Regions from separate parts of the Homo sapiens genome. Here region 1 is linked to region 2. The links are contacts of gene promoters, found by promoter capture Hi-C in blood cells and fetal thymus (Javierre and others, 2016). All regions are on one chromosome and are shown on one strand. The core of a region is centred on a gene start or on the middle of the fragment in contact, and the rest is flanking DNA. Distances in the headings are between cores, read along the strand shown. Region 1 overlaps MEFV (MEFV innate immunity regulator, pyrin). Region 2 holds the start of OR2C1 (olfactory receptor family 2 subfamily C member 1).

Evidence for each region. The method cuts DNA at HindIII sites, captures the fragments that hold promoters and counts their contacts. A CHiCAGO score of 5 or more calls a contact.
Region 1: a contact is called between a fragment that was not itself captured here and the fragment with the promoter of OR2C1 in region 2, in 1 of 17 cell types (megakaryocytes). The highest score is 5.5, in megakaryocytes.

Annotation. Positions count from the first base shown.
Region 1 is chr16:3,241,979-3,245,058 of GRCh38, forward strand. It overlaps MEFV (MEFV innate immunity regulator, pyrin), which reads right to left. Exons shown (of 10, transcript NM_000243.3): 7 at 2,495-2,610; 8 at 2,276-2,308; 9 at 1,882-1,914; 10 at 49-1,716. The coding sequence ends at 1,163. Among named protein-coding and RNA genes, the nearest start is that of ZNF200, 8.4 kb to the left of the region's middle. RefSeq lists an enhancer at 1,344-2,543. The HindIII fragment of the contact is 4,878 bases long and covers 1-3,080 here.
Region 2 is chr16:3,354,099-3,357,451 of GRCh38, forward strand. OR2C1 (olfactory receptor family 2 subfamily C member 1) reads left to right here and starts at 1,791. Exons shown (of 1, transcript NM_012368.3): 1 at 1,791-3,208. The coding sequence starts at 1,843. The coding sequence ends at 2,781. The HindIII fragment of the contact is 3,889 bases long and covers 1,374-3,353 here.

The DNA.
Region 1 (3,080 bases), core at 507-3,006, 110 kb before region 2:
AGTCGGGAAATGGGATTCCACAGTGATTGAGTGACAAATGCAAATGACCAGATTTTCTAATTTTTTTATTCATGAGGCCCAGTCAATTCTCTTAAGAATCATGGCCCGGCATGGTGGCTCATGCCTGTAATCCCTGCACTTTGGGAGGCTGAGGTGGGTGCATCACCTGAGGTCAGGAGTTTGAGACCGGCCTGGCCAACATGATGAAACCTCATGTCTACTAAAAATGCAAAAAATTAGCCGGGCATGGTGGCGGGCGCCTGTAATCCCAGCTACTTCGGAGGCTGAGGCAGGAGAATCTCTTGAACCTGGGAGGCGGAGGTTGCGAGCCAAGATTGCACCACTGCACTCCAGCCTGGGTGACAAGAGCAAAACTTTGTCTCAAAAAAAAAAAAAAAAAAGAATCATAGGCCGGGCACAGTGGCTCATGCCTGTAATCCCAGCACTTTGGGAGGCTGAGGCGGGTGGATCACCTGAGGTCAGGAGTTCGAGACCAGCCTGGCTAACATGGTGAAACCCCCGTCTCTACTAAAAATACAAGAAAACCAGCCTGGTGTGGTGGCACGCACCTGTAATCCCAGCTGCTCAGGAGGCTGAGGCAGGAGAATCGCTTGAACCTGGGAGGTGGAGGTTGCAGTGAGCTGAGATCGTGCCACTGCACTCCAGCCTGGGCCACAGAGCAAGATTTGGTCTCAAAAAAAAAAAAAAAAAATCATAGTTCATTAATCCAGGTACACAAATACTTCTATCCCAATCCAGTCTGCTTGCGTTTCTCTAGGCTTCCCATATCCTCAAGACAGAAGCAGAGAGAACAAGGGGACATATATCCTTGCCGTGGGGTTCTGAGGGAAAATGAGGGCCAAATCTTCTGTTCAGGAGCACCTGAGAGTGCCACCCACCAGGGGCGGATTATGCAACGACTCCGTACTTCCTCCTCTGAAATCCATGGTGTGTCATCAGTACATGTCTTCACCCGGATTGACTAACATGTTCGTTCCTAACTTACCTCTGCTATAATCGGGTAGGCTCCGTGGGCACAGTAACTATTTTGTTATTTTTGCATTTCCCATAGCAGCTAGCACCTAGTCGGCATTCCGTGACTATTGAGTGTGAATGCAAGATACAAGGCCAGAAGCAGGAAGAGAGATGCAGTGTTGGGCATTCAGTCAGGCCCCTGACCACCCACTGGACAGATAGTCAGAGGAGCTGTGTTCTTCCCTCCATCACGTGTCCCAGGGCTGAAGATAGGTTGAAGGGGCCCAGAGAAAGAGCAGCTGGCGAATGTATAGATGTGGGATCTGGCTGTCACATTGTAAAAGGAGATGCTTCCAACTCTGTAGTCCACGAAGATGCCCACACGCTTGGGAGGCTCCTTTATTAGCAGGCGGGTCGGGGGAACGCTGGACGCCTGGTACTCATTTTCCTTCATCATTATCACCACCCAGTAGCCATTCTCTGGCGACAGAGTCATGTTCCCTTTCCTGCTTATGGATGTCTTGCAGGCTCCCAGGATCCATGCTGTCTTGTCTCCAACCTCCACCTCCCAGTAACGGCGGCCAGAGAGGAAACTCGGAGAGCCCAGAACAATGATACAGCTGTCAAATCTTTGCGGGCCATCAGGCAGCCTCTCCCACTTGTTTCCAAGTCTAACACTCTTCAGATCATCAGAGAAGATGAGGTTGGGGTAAGCGGTTTCTGCATCCAGAATCACATTAACTGCAAAGAAAATTTGAATACCTAGGTAGGGGTCCATGGGCAACATCCCTACAGGGTTCTCCCCACCTGCAGGAAACAGGGACAGGGTAGTTCTTCTGGAACGTGGTAGGGGAGAGCACAGGGATCCAGCAGGCCAGGGCCACTTGCCTTGATCTGGGCACTTACCAGCATGTGCCTGAGCGCCAATCAGCTCCGGAACTACGGAGAAAAATCAGATAGGGAAAAAAATCCTGAGCATTAGCATTAAGAGGGGCTAAATTACACTGTCCTGACAACAAGGAAAGACAAGGAACCCCCTGCTTAGGGCCCTGCATGCTATGTTGGGTATAATCCCGTTCCTCCCAGGAACCCAGGCCATGTTGGGGACTGTGGTCTAATGAGTCAACTCAGTCAATGAGTCACGCACAGAGCCTGGGGGGCCTGCCATGACCTTTCTCCTACCTTTGCTCCAGGTGTTTGGTTTTTTTTTTTGTCTTCTAAATAGGGCCCCTCAAGTCAACAGCACAAGGGAACACTGCAACAACCCCAGGCCAGCACACACCATTACCGCTGGACTCACCATTGAACATTTCCATTTCTGAACGCAGGGTTTCTAAAATGTGGGAAAGGGAGCAGAGAGAAGCTGGAGTTAGGTCCCTCAGCCAGGGACAGATGGAGGAGAGGTTGAAGGCAGGTCAGCAAGACCAGGGGAAGAGGAGGGAAGTGAGGGGCTCTGGGCTATGTGGATCTTAGGGAGGAAGTGAGCATGCACCTCCAATCTTCTCCCAAGCCCATCTACCTGAGAAGTACTTTGTGCTCTTCTCCACAAACTCTGACTTCTGGTGGAGGAGTTGGATCTTTTGTTTTATCTCTTGAGGAGTGGTCCACTTTTCAGGGACAGGCACTGTCTTAGCCCTAGAGACAAAAGACTGTTGACCAGAGAAGGCCGGAGCGAGGGGGTGGCCCAAGTACCCGTGAGCTGGAAATGAACTACATTCTCCACAGGGCACACCTAGCCCAGCCTGAGCTACACAAAGAAAAGTCTTCCCTGGATTCAGAGGTCTAAATGCTGGTCCTCAACTTTGGCCACAGACTGTCATGTACTGGGGTGCTTTAAAGACATGGATATCAAAACCACAAGGAGTTTTCAGAATGGACTTAAAATGACATTGATATTATCTACTAGAATTATCTATGTCAAATTGATTATACACCCCTTTCTTTCTATTGAAATAAAAAGATAATAAATGAAAAAAAAACACACACAACAAAATATCCCTTCACATCCATTAGAATGGCTATTATAAAAACAGCAACAACAGAAAAAAATAGACCAGGTATGGTGGCTCATGCCTGTAATCCTAGCACTTCAGGAGGCCGGGGCA
Region 2 (3,353 bases), core at 541-3,040:
TCAGCCTCCTGAGTAGCTGGGGCTGCAGGCGCCCGCCACCATGCCCGACAAATTTTTTGTATTATTAGTAGAGACGGGGTTTCACCATGTTGGCCAGGCTGATCTCAAACTCTTGGCCTCAAGTGATCTGCCCACTTTGACCTCCCAAAGTGTTGGGATTACAGGCGTGAGCCACTGTACCCGGTCTCATGAGATGTTAAGAATTATTTGATGATTTAGACGTGGACACAGTAGTTATATACCTCAAAAGAGGGATCTCCTCTGTAAATCTTCTAATTTCCCTTACTAATTATGAATACCCATTAACTATTTTAACCCCTTTTTGTGTAACCTCTGTTTATATCTTTTGCCTTTTCCACCTAAACTTATTTAAGCTTAAGTGAAGTTTTGTTTGCTCTACATTGACCTCCTCTTAAATTGTACATTCCCAGCTTCTGTATTTGGAGCATAAGTCTGTATCTACTCTTTCCATTATTTCTGTGACTTTATAGATTCATCATGTTATTCCTCAAACATCATCTTTCTAGATCCAGCACTGAGGTAAAACTCAGAGGGGAGGGATGTAGAAGAGAGCAGAGGAAATTTAACAGAAAATTCTGGGGAGCTTTTCCAAATACAATGTGTCTGCTTCCCCCCTTCCCTGAGCGTATCAGAATCTTGGCTGGGGAAATGTGTTGTTGCTGTTGTTTTCAAGAGATAGGGTCTCCCTCTGTCACTCAGGCATTGGAGTACAGGGGCTCACTGCTGCCTTGAACACTGGGGCTCAAGAGATCCTCCCACCTCAGCCTCTTAAAATGCTGGGATTACAGGTGTGAGCCACCATGCCTGACTGAAATTTCAGTCTGACTGAAAGTTTTTGAGAACTTTCACATCTAATTCTAATGGTCAACTCTCTCTATCCCGTCATAGCCATTGTTCTGAACTGAAGGGCTCTTCAGTTCTTGGGGTCTTTTGGTTTTGTCATCATGAGGCACTTCCTTCATTTCCGTGTTAGCTCATACCTGACATTCTGATGGAATCAACTTTTCCATTCGGTGTGTAACCAACAGTAGATGGGGATTACAACAGAAGTTTGAAATCTAGGCCACGCACGGTGGCTCACACCTGTAATCCCAGCTTTTTGAGAGGCTGAGGCTGGCATATCACGAGGTCAGGAGTTCGAGACCAGCCTGGCCAACATGGTGAAACCCCGTCTCTACTAAAACAAAAATTAGCCAGGCATGGTGGTGCATGCCTGTAGTCCCAGCTACTCGTGAGGCTGAGGCAGGAGAATTGCTTGCACCTGGGAGGCGGAAGTTGCAATGAGCCGAGATTGCACCACTGCACTCCAGCCTGGGTGACAGAGCGAGACTCTGTCTCAAAAAAAAAAAAAAAGCTTGCAATCTTAAAAAGTAAGTTGGAGTCCAGGTGCAGTGGTTCATGCCTGTAATCCCAGCACTTTGGGAGGCTGAGGCAGATGGATCACTTGAGCCCAAGAGTTGGAGACAACCCTGGGCAACATGGCAAAACCCCATCTCTACAAAAAATACAAAAGTTATTTGGATGTGGTGGCACACACCTGTGGTCACAGTTACTTGGGAGGCTGAGACAAGAGGATTGCTTGAGCCAGGGAGAAGGAGGTTGCAGTGAGCTGAGATTGTGCCACTGCACTCCAACCTGGGTGACAGTGAGAGACTCTGTCTCAAAAAACAAACAAAAAATAGGTTGTTACTTAACTATGGATCCCAGAGAACTATTAGACCGTTCCTGATGCAAATCCACCTCATCCAACAGCTTTTTCTTGACTTTTCTTCCAGCAGCTTGCGCTAAATGAATTCATCAAGTGACTGAAGACAACCAGTGATGGACGGGGTGAATGATAGCTCCTTGCAGGGCTTTGTTCTGATGGGCATATCAGACCATCCCCAGCTGGAGATGATCTTTTTTATAGCCATCCTCTTCTCCTATTTGCTGACCCTACTTGGGAACTCAACCATCATCTTGCTTTCCCGCCTGGAGGCCCGGCTCCATACACCCATGTACTTCTTCCTCAGCAACCTCTCCTCCTTGGACCTTGCTTTCGCTACTAGTTCAGTCCCCCAAATGCTGATCAATTTATGGGGACCAGGCAAGACCATCAGCTATGGTGGCTGCATAACCCAGCTCTATGTCTTCCTTTGGCTGGGGGCCACCGAGTGCATCCTGCTGGTGGTGATGGCATTTGACCGCTACGTGGCAGTGTGCCGGCCCCTCCGCTACACCGCCATCATGAACCCCCAGCTCTGCTGGCTGCTGGCTGTGATTGCCTGCCTGGGTGGCTTGGGCAACTCTGTGATCCAGTCAACATTCACTCTGCAGCTCCCATTGTGTGGGCACCGGAGGGTGGAGGGATTCCTCTGCGAGGTGCCTGCCATGATCAAACTGGCCTGTGGCGACACAAGTCTCAACCAGGCTGTGCTCAATGGTGTCTGCACCTTCTTCACTGCAGTCCCACTAAGCATCATCGTGATCTCCTACTGCCTCATTGCTCAGGCAGTGCTGAAAATCCGCTCTGCAGAGGGGAGGCGAAAGGCGTTCAATACGTGCCTCTCCCATCTGCTGGTGGTGTTCCTCTTCTATGGCTCAGCCAGCTATGGGTATCTGCTTCCGGCCAAGAACAGCAAACAGGACCAGGGCAAGTTCATTTCCCTGTTCTACTCGTTGGTCACACCCATGGTGAATCCCCTCATCTACACGCTGCGGAACATGGAAGTGAAGGGCGCACTGAGGAGGTTGCTGGGGAAAGGAAGAGAAGTTGGCTGAGAGAACACTCCTTCGTTATTTATTGCGTCTTCATCTCTACATGCGTTTCTCATTAACTCTCTCTGGCCAGGTGAACATGAGGAATACTAATTCCGGTAAAACCAAGGCATGTTCCTGACAGCCCTAAGCTGACAGCCCTAAGCTGTTGGGAACATGGTTAGTGTTATTCGTAATGTTCTACACTTATTTACCAAAAATCCTACTGTGGACTACCGATAGCAGGGGAGACATGTTGTTGAGGGCTCAGAGGTTATTGACCTGTGACAGACCTGTCTCACTGTCTCTGTCTCTGTTGCCCACATGTTATTTAATATGCCTTATATTTCTGCAGAATTCTGTACTTTTCTAAGCAAAGCACCTCCACTTGCAGTATCTTACATAATGTTACTATAATTCCATAAAATCAAGCCATGTATTATTAACTTCATATGAAGACCCAAACAATTCATGTTTTTACCCTATCTGTCATTATCTTTGCCTACCTCTTTTTGTCTCTTCTTCATTTTTTTTAAGAGTTGGAGTCTTGCTCTGTTGCCCAGGCTGAAGTAGAGTGGCATGATCTTAGCTCACTG